Regions from separate parts of the Homo sapiens genome. Here region 2 is linked to region 1. Evidence: promoter capture Hi-C in 16 types of primary human blood cells and fetal thymus (Javierre and others, 2016). All regions are on one chromosome and are shown on one strand. The core of a region is centred on a gene start or on the middle of the fragment in contact, and the rest is flanking DNA. Distances in the headings are between cores, read along the strand shown.

What was found. The method cuts DNA at HindIII sites, captures the fragments that hold promoters and counts their contacts. A CHiCAGO score of 5 or more calls a contact.
Region 2: a contact is called between a fragment that was not itself captured here and the fragment with the promoter of ATG9A in region 1, in 1 of 17 cell types (erythroblasts). The highest score is 5.1, in erythroblasts.

The regions. Positions count from the first base shown.
Region 1 is chr2:219,227,798-219,232,404 of GRCh38, reverse strand. ATG9A (autophagy related 9A) reads left to right here and starts at 2,769. Exons shown (of 16, transcript NM_001077198.3): 1 at 2,769-2,870; 2 at 3,920-3,971; 3 at 4,352-4,483; 4 at 4,592-4,607. The coding sequence starts at 4,381. It overlaps ANKZF1 (ankyrin repeat and zinc finger peptidyl tRNA hydrolase 1), which reads right to left and starts at 2,599. Exons shown (of 14, transcript NM_018089.3): 1 at 2,505-2,599; 2 at 2,000-2,177; 3 at 365-477; 4 at 43-145. The coding sequence starts at 2,147. RefSeq lists enhancers at 2,405-2,514, 2,185-2,732, 2,733-3,280, 3,281-3,829 and silencers at 2,665-2,794, 3,005-3,054. The HindIII fragment of the contact is 5,267 bases long and covers 133-4,607 here.
Region 2 is chr2:219,359,537-219,363,604 of GRCh38, reverse strand. It overlaps LOC105373883 (a long non-coding RNA gene), which reads left to right. Exons shown (of 2, transcript XR_923917.3): 2 at 797-1,103. Among named protein-coding and RNA genes, the nearest start is that of DNPEP, 26 kb to the left of the region's middle. RefSeq lists an enhancer at 993-1,042. The HindIII fragment of the contact is 2,100 bases long and covers 1,107-3,206 here.

The sequences.
Region 1 (4,607 bases), core at 1,520-4,019:
TCCATGTCCTACTCCTACATAGGTCCCCCTACCACTCATCACCTGTGGAGCTCTGCTTTTCAAAGTCCAGGGCAGACAGGAGAGGCTTGTCCTTGAGACGTTGCTTTAGGTTAAACCGATGCCAGTCAAGCTTATAATGTTCCCTCTAGTACAAAGACAAAGAGTGAGATAAAGGTGGAAATATGCCCCAGCCTGGCCTTGTACTGGCCAAGACCAGTTATAGTATTCTAGGAAGTACAACCAGGTAACACCAACTGCCTCAGTCAAAGCATGGACCTTTATTAAGACAAATCAAATGTCTACCTCTCCCCACCCACCATTACACTTTTGCTTCTAACATCTAGCTCTGCACCTGACCTATTACCTGTTCTTGGTGGTTCTGGAAGGTCTGGTCACAAGTTGAACAAAATAACTTCTCTGAAATATCCATAGGACCCTGGAGTAGCTTTCTTTCTGGGCTTTCTCTCTCCCCTGAGCCTAAATAAGGGAAGAGGAATTGGACATAGAAAGGGAGCCCAAATCCACAGTGACAAGAATTATATTCAGAGTGTGATATACAAAGCAGAGGAGGATACAAAAGAGATGGCATGATACTGCCTTCAAGGAATTTACACTCTAATAGTCATGAAATAAACAGTACAGCAATCACTTAATGCAATAAACATGCTTCTGAAAACATGTACGTAAAATGAATGTAAATAAAATAAAATTGGCCAGGTGCAGCGGCTCACGCTTGTAATCCCAGCACTTTGGGAGGCCAAGGCAGACGGATCATGAAGTCAGGAGATCAAGACCATCCTGGCTAACACGGTGAAACCCCGTCTCTACTAAAAATACAAAAAATTAACCGGGTGTGGTGGCGGATGCCTGTAGTCCCAGCTACTTGGGAGGCTGAGGCAGGAGAACGGCATGAACCGGGGAGGCGGAGCTTGCAGTGAGCCGAGATCACACCACTGCACTCCAGCCTGGGCAACAGAACGAGACTCTGTCTCAAAAAAGATGAAGAAAAATAAAATAAATAAAACGAATGTAAATAAAAACTGGCCCTGGGCATTCTGGAAAAGAATCCGATGAGGGTAAAAGCCTTGGGGTCGGTTAAACTTCTCCAACGTAGCCCTCTCCCGAGATCCAGCGTCTGCAAGTCCTCCCCACTGGCTGAGTTTGAGTCTTGTCTAATTTAAATTAGCCAAACAGATTGTTTAGGTGAATCCTAAAGAAAATAATTTCTGTTCAGTTTAAAATTATTTTTCACTGCACAAAAACTACTTCCCAAATGCTTTTTAAAGTTTACATTTCCAATTAGTGTACAGTTTGTCTAAGGAGAGGTGCAAGAAAAGATGTAGCCAAACTAAAGTTACACAAAACAGGACCGACACGGTGGCTCATGCCTGTAATCTCAGCACTTTGGGAGGCTGACCCAGGCGGATCACTTGAGGCCAGGAGTTTGAGACCAGCCTGGCCAACATGGTGAAACCCCGTCTCTACTAAAAATACAATAATTAGCCGGGCATGGTGGTGCGGGCCTGTAGTCCCAGCTACTCGGGAGGCTGAGGCAGGAGAATCACTTGAACCCGGGAGACGGAGATTGCAGTGGGTGGAGATCGTGCCACTGCACTTTAGCCTGGGCGACAGAGCGAGACTCTCAAAAAATAAAGCTATACGAAACAAATAATAAATTGTTTCATATTCAGCAAAAAGGAATAATTTGAGTGGGGCCTGGTTAAATGTGGAATACATCTGAGAATTTTATCTCTACAAAGTTTAAAGTGTTTTTGAAGGGAATGGTGTTAACGTGAGGAGATACATGCAATGGCAAAAAGACTTGTTTGAAAACAAGGGCTGTGCTGGACATTACCCAGAGATTAAGTGAATTTAATCAAGCAGAAAGATAAATCAATTGGCCTCCTAAGCTCGGGAATACCAATAAGAATGTGTTCCCTGAACGGGCAATACGCTGTAAGGAGCCCTGTCACGTTTCACACGAAACCTTCCAGGATACCTGAACAGGAAGTACGCGGAGCCCGGGCCAGAGCCTCCCCAGGCGCGTGGCTCACCAGGCTCAGGCCCTGAAAGACCGGAGCATCCGCGCTGAGGTCAAACAGGGAGATCGACGCAGGAGCCGGGGCTGCATCTGGAGCCGGCGACATGGCTGAGCAGAAATTATTTAGCAGCAGCTCCTGGAGTAGAAAGCGTGTAAGAAACAGGGCTCCTGCAAACGAGATCCTACTGCTGCGTCTCCTGCCTGCCTGACTTGGTTTCTCCTGCACCGCAAGACTTCTCGTCTCTCATCCTGCTACCAACTGTGAGATGAATACCTTGGCCCCCGTCCACTTTCTCAAACCCCCAGTCTCAGCCCACAAAAGAATGAAATAGGCATTCGGCTCCCAAATCGAGTCCAACAGAGTTAAAAATCACTGAGCTTGCCTAGCCGAACTTTCTTCGTTACCCATGCGACCAGCAACAACTGGCCCGCGTAAACTCGCCCACGCCCTTAGAAGACGCACCAAACGTCCCGGGAGCTGAGCGGCTCGCAAGTCCTCAGGTCGATTGCCGGATTTCTGCAACACAACAATCCCCGTCACTACGGAGCAGCGAAGAGGACAACCGGCGGCGTCCGCACCTGAGCCCCGCCCCACGTAGAGCACACTATTGGGCCGCTGACTGTCCAAGACCCGCCTCGAGACTTTAGTCCCGTCCCTGAAGCCGAGAATTGGCCGTTGTGTCTCCGCCCCCCGTGCTTATTGGCCAGCCTGGCTGCGGGTGACAGTGAGTGGCAGACACCCGGCCTAGCGCCGCGGGTCGCGCCGAGCCGAGCCGAGCCGAGCGGAGCCGGCGGAGCCTCTGGAATCACCCGGGTCGCTGTTCCTGAGGTAAGACGTGAGACCGGTTATTGGAATCCCAGGCCCCGTGTCTGGCCTTGCCCAGGGGTGCCTGCGGAGCCCTAAGTGAGCTCGCGGCGGGTAACGGAGGAAGGGGCGCCGCCGGCGGGGCGGGGGCGCGCAGCCGGAATGTTTTGATTGCTGGCGCGCGCAGACGGGGGCGCGCGCGGGCGCCGGGGCCGCGCGCGAGGTTGTCCGCTGTTGGGAGCTGCCAGCCCTTGGCCTGGGGCCGGGCGACCCTGGGGCGAGGTGGACTCCGGTCCACGGTCGCCGCGGCTGGGTGTGGGGAGGCAAGCCAACCCACCCGGGCTATCAGCTGTAAGGCTGACTCGATCCCTGCAACATCCGCAGGAACCCCTGAGCCCAGGCCCAGCCGGCCGGGGCTCCACGGGCCCTGGTCCACACTGACCCTGTGAGTGGTGACTTCCCTGAGGGGCAGGGCTCTCACTAGCCCAGGGAATCCCACCGGGGCCAGGCTGGGCCAAGATCCACGGCCCCCAGGGGCTGCACGGACAGGTGAGTACCACCTCGACCATGCCTGGCTTACAGGACCTAGGGAACCCACAAATTCACCTAGGATCGGGGGTCTACACTGACCCAGTCAAGGTTTCCCATCCAGAAGGTTTGCTCACCGGCTGGATCTTTGGTGCTAGGGAAGTAAGAGAAGGGGTTGACCAGAAAGGTCCTCTTCAGGAAAGACTCTTGAGGTTTTGTGGACCCTGAGAAGTATGTCATTTCTGAGGCTAAGGTAGGGCAATGGAGAAATAGTCCAGAGGCGCCCCTGGCCTCAGGTCTGTACCCACTCATTCTCCATGGGGTCCCTAAGTTACTTCTTGAGACCCTGGAGTTGGAAGAGTGGCCCGGTTTAGCACAGCCAGAGGAAGTGCTCGTAGTCCTGGGCTGGAAGGGTGCTTCTTCCCCACTGCAGCCTTCCTGCCCCATGCTTGGCCTCCTCTTGGTGGGGTGTGGATGGCTGGGAGGGTTGGGTTCCTTTTTATCCCCACTGCCCACTCTCTGGGGCCTGACATCTTCTCCTCCAGCAGCTGCAGAGCATCGAGGGCTGGAGAGGAGCACATACTGTCCATGGAGCTGGTAGGGCCATGTGCTTTTCTCAAACATTTGTTTGTGAAGTGCTTCCAAACTGTTAGTCTCTTGGGAGACCAGGGTTCCCAGGATGGGCGGGGGAGGGACTCTTCTGTCCGTTAAATAGAAGATGAAACAGCCCCCAACAAAGGGACAGATTCTGGCTTTGGGCCAGGAAAGCAGCAGTAGACACCCAGACTGGCCAGAGTTAAGGCTCCCCCAGCCCTGAGCTTACTGCCTTTCTTGTGTCACTACTCCTCTGCCTCTGAGCCAAGGAGGCTGGTAGTGGACAAAGCCCAAGGGTACTTTCTCCTTTTGGCAGTAGGCAGGGCAGCCCATGGGCAGCAGCTGGAACTGAATCAGGGTCTCTTCTTCCTCCTTATTGGCAGGTGGTCAAGGTGGACAGGGGGCGGTGGTGATGGCGCAGTTTGACACTGAATACCAGCGCCTAGAGGCCTCCTATAGTGATTCACCCCCAGGGGAGGAGGACCTGTTGGTGCACGTCGCCGAGGGGAGCAAGTGTGAGTTCTTGGATATGACAGCCATAGGGAGAGTTGATGGAAGAACATGGAGAGAGCAAGGGGCTTGTGTTCTCCCAGGGCTCTGACATCTCTGTTCCTATCCCACAGCACCTTGGCACCATAT
Region 2 (4,068 bases), core at 907-3,406, 130 kb before region 1:
TGTACATAGTAATGCACACACATATTCTCAAACCTACACACATACACCTCACACACATACATAAACGTAACATATATACACCTACACACACATAAACAGACACATGCGGACTTACACATGGACATCTATACAGAAACACACACATGTAAGCATACATGCACACACACAACACAGGTGCACATGCACATACAATGTTTGCAAACATATACAGCCACAGGCATAGACACACATATACACCTGGATACATATACAAACCCATCACACATGCATACATATGCTCATTCACATACTACAAATACATACAAAAAGGCATACACATATATGCACACATGCACAACATACAAACACAGAGACATGCATGTAGGCATAATACATGCATGCATACTCGTGCGCAAAAAACACACATGTGCAATACACAGATACATATACATAAATGCATGCATACACATATGCAGACAATACATAGATACATGTCACACAAACATATTGCTATATATCCATATATACATATGCAAAAACATACACATATATACACAAACACACACATCTTTATGTACACACCCACAAACACACACCCCACATACCCACACGCACATACTGCATGTGATAGCCATCCTACAAGATGACCTCCAGTGATCCTTACCTCTTGGAATTCATGCCTTTGTGTAGTCCCTCCCACAGTGTATCAGGGTTGGTCTCTGTGGCCAGTATAATATGGCAGAAATGATGGCATGGGACTTCCAAAGCTAGGTTTTAAAAACACTGTGGCTTTTGCCTGGTTCTCTCTCTCTCTCAGGTCACTCACTCCAGAGGAAGCCAGCTGCTGTGTCATGAGGCACTCAAGCAGCCATATGGAGAGGCTGATGTGGTAGGGAACTGAGACCTCCTGCCAACAGCCAGCATCGTCTTGCCAGGAGGGTGAGTCATCTTGAAAGTGGATCCTCTAGCCCCACGCAAGCCTTCAGAAGACTACAGCCAACCCTGAGTAACATCTTCACTGCAACTTCAAGAGAGACCCTGAACCAAAAATACCCAGCTAAGCCTCTCTCAGATTCCCAGTCCACAGAAACTGTGAAATAGATGTTTATAGTTTAAGCGACTAAGCTTTGGGGTAATTTGTCATGTAGCAATAAGCCATAGATATTCTTTGCTAAAACTGGATTTTTAAAAAAAGTAATAGACAATGAATACAAGTACACTACATGTACACATATACACATTGACACACACATCCCATCTACATACACAAATACATCTCCCACACATACAAACCTACATACGCACACACAAACACACATGCATACAGTACACATTGATTCATACAAACACATGCACACACATATAAACACATGGACACAACACCCATGCACAAACATATAAACACATGTATACACATATAAACACATGTACGCATGCGCAAGTCCCGAGAACCCACTTCTAGAGTCTTTGGGCTCTTCACCATCTAGATGCCCACCTGGGGCTCCCCATAGAGCTCTGACCCATCTCGGAGGAGCTGCCTCTTCTCTCTCTTTTTTTTTTTTTTTTTGAGATGGAGTTTTGCTCTGTCACCCAGGCTGGAATGCAGTGGCACAATCTCTGCTCACTGCAACCTCTGCCTCCCGGGTTCAAGCAATTCTTCTGCCTCAGCCTCCAGAGTAGCTGGGACTACAGGCACATGCCACCATGGCCAGCTAATTTTTGTACTTTTAGTAGAGACGGGGTTTCACCATGTTGGCCAGGCTGGTCTTGAACTCCTGACCTTGTGATCTACCCGCCTCGGCCTCCCAAAGTGCTGGGATTACAGGCGTGAGCCACCGTGCCTGGCCTGAGGAGCTGCCTCTTCTCTAGGAGATTCCCACCAGAGGTGATCCTGTCCTTGAGGGAAGACCTTGTTTCCCGACAAAGGGTGGTGGCCTGAGTCTTGCAGGCCTCAGTGCAATGATAGCACCATCCCCACTGGCTATCCAAGAAGAGGCACAGGCATGGTGGCCCACCCTCTCCCTATCAAGGTGGGCAGCCTTTGTTCCCTGGGGTCAGGTGGGCTGTCTCACACCTTCCCCCTGGTGAGCTGTAAGGCAGGTCTCCTGGATTCTGCTCCTGATTCTCTACCAGACCAGGCCTCTCTGCCCTTCTGGGTTTCAAGGTCTTTCACCTTGAAACCTTGGGGCATAGCCGAAATCTACAAACCCAGAGAGGCTGAAGCTGAAAGGAACTAGAATTCAACTCACAATGCATTTGTGCAACACGAGGCTGCTTTATATCCATCATCTCATTTCATTTTCACAGTCACCCTGATGAGCTGCCCATCTAACAGATAAGAGCACTGAGGCAGAGGTGTTTCATCTGGGGCCTCAGGACCCAAAATCTGTTTCATTTTGGAGCATCCAGGCTGAGCTAGGTCCTGAGCCAGACACTGAGGATGTGATAGCAAATCAAACAGACATGTCTTCTGTCCTCTTGAAATTTACACTCCAGTGGGGAGACGCAAATAAACAAGTAAACAAAGGAAGAAGTCCATCGGCCGCGGTGGCTCATATCTGTAATCCTAGAACTTTGGGAGGCCAAGGCAGGTAGATCACCTGAGGTCAAGAGTTCAAGACCAGCCTGGCCAACATGGTGAAACCTCATCTCTAATAAAAATACAAAAATTAGCTGGGTGTGGTGGCAGGCGCCTACAATCCCAGCTACTTGGGAGGCTGAGGCAAGAGAATTGCTTGAACCCAAGAGGCAGAGGTTGCAGTGAGCCAAGATCGTCATTGCGCTCCAACCTGGGCAACAGAGCAAAAACTCCATCTCAAAACAAACAAAACAAACAAACAACAACAACAACAACAACAAAAAACGAAGAAGTCATGGACAGTGGTAAGAGTCATGAAGGTAATGAAGTGACAATTATTCCTAGGGACCAGAAACTACTTGGTGGGGAGGGTTATACTAGAACAAAGAGATAACAATGGAGGGTGGGGAGAAGCAGAAATGGCCTTTGAGAAGGACTCAGGTGTTCAAAGAATGGAAAGGAGGCTGGGAACAGAGAGAGCAAGATGAGAGAAGGAAATGAGGCTGGAGAGGAAGGCAAGGCTAGATCACGTTGGGGCTCATAGGCCATGGTCGGGAATTTAGCGTTTATTCAAAAGTGTAAATGAGGTGATCCATTGGATGGTGTTAAGCAAGGGAATAACATGCTTTAATTTATATTTTGGAAAGCTTCTCCTGGTGCTTAAGAGATTACAGGGAGGCAAGAGTGGAACAACAAATATTCAACAAGAACGACTGAGCACCTACAGTACACCAGACACAATCCCAGACTCCTAGAACACACCCCAAGTCATTAGTTACTCCAGGCAACTAGATGAGATTCAATTTCTGTAACAGGTGAAAGACGATGGCCAGCTGGGCATGGTGGCTCACGCCTGTAATCCCAGCACTTTGTAAGACTGAGGCAGGAGGTTCACTTGACCCTGGAAGTTTGAAACCAGCCTAGGCAACATAAGATCTTGTCTCTATTAAACATTTACAAAAATAAAAATAAAAGAAAGATGATGGTGGTTTGAACAAGGGCAATGGCATTGGGTCTGGGAAAAATGTAAACTGTAAGAGAAAATTTTTGCAGGGAGAAACCTGAACAATGCATAGGAGGTGCCACTGACAGAGAGGGAGCATCAAAAAGAACAGTAATAGCCAACGTTAATTGAGTGCTTCTGATGTATGCTTATGATGTGCTGGTCCCATCATATTTCTAAATCCTTCAAAGGTGTTAAACTTATTAATCCTTCTAAGAACACTGTAAGCTAGACGCTACTGTCAAACTCATTTTACAGGTGAGGGAACTGGGGCACAGAGGAAGCAAAAAACTGCCTGCAGGTATTTGGATTTGGCTCCAGCACACTGTCTTTTTTGCCCGGAGAGGGGTAGGAAGAGAGAGACAGGGTCTTGCTCTGTCACCCAGGCTGGAGTACAGGATCACGATTCACTGCAGCCTTGACCTCCCGGACTCACATGAGCCTCCCACCTCAGCCTCCCAAGTAGCTGGGACCACAGGTGCCTGCCACCACACCCGGCTAATTTTTA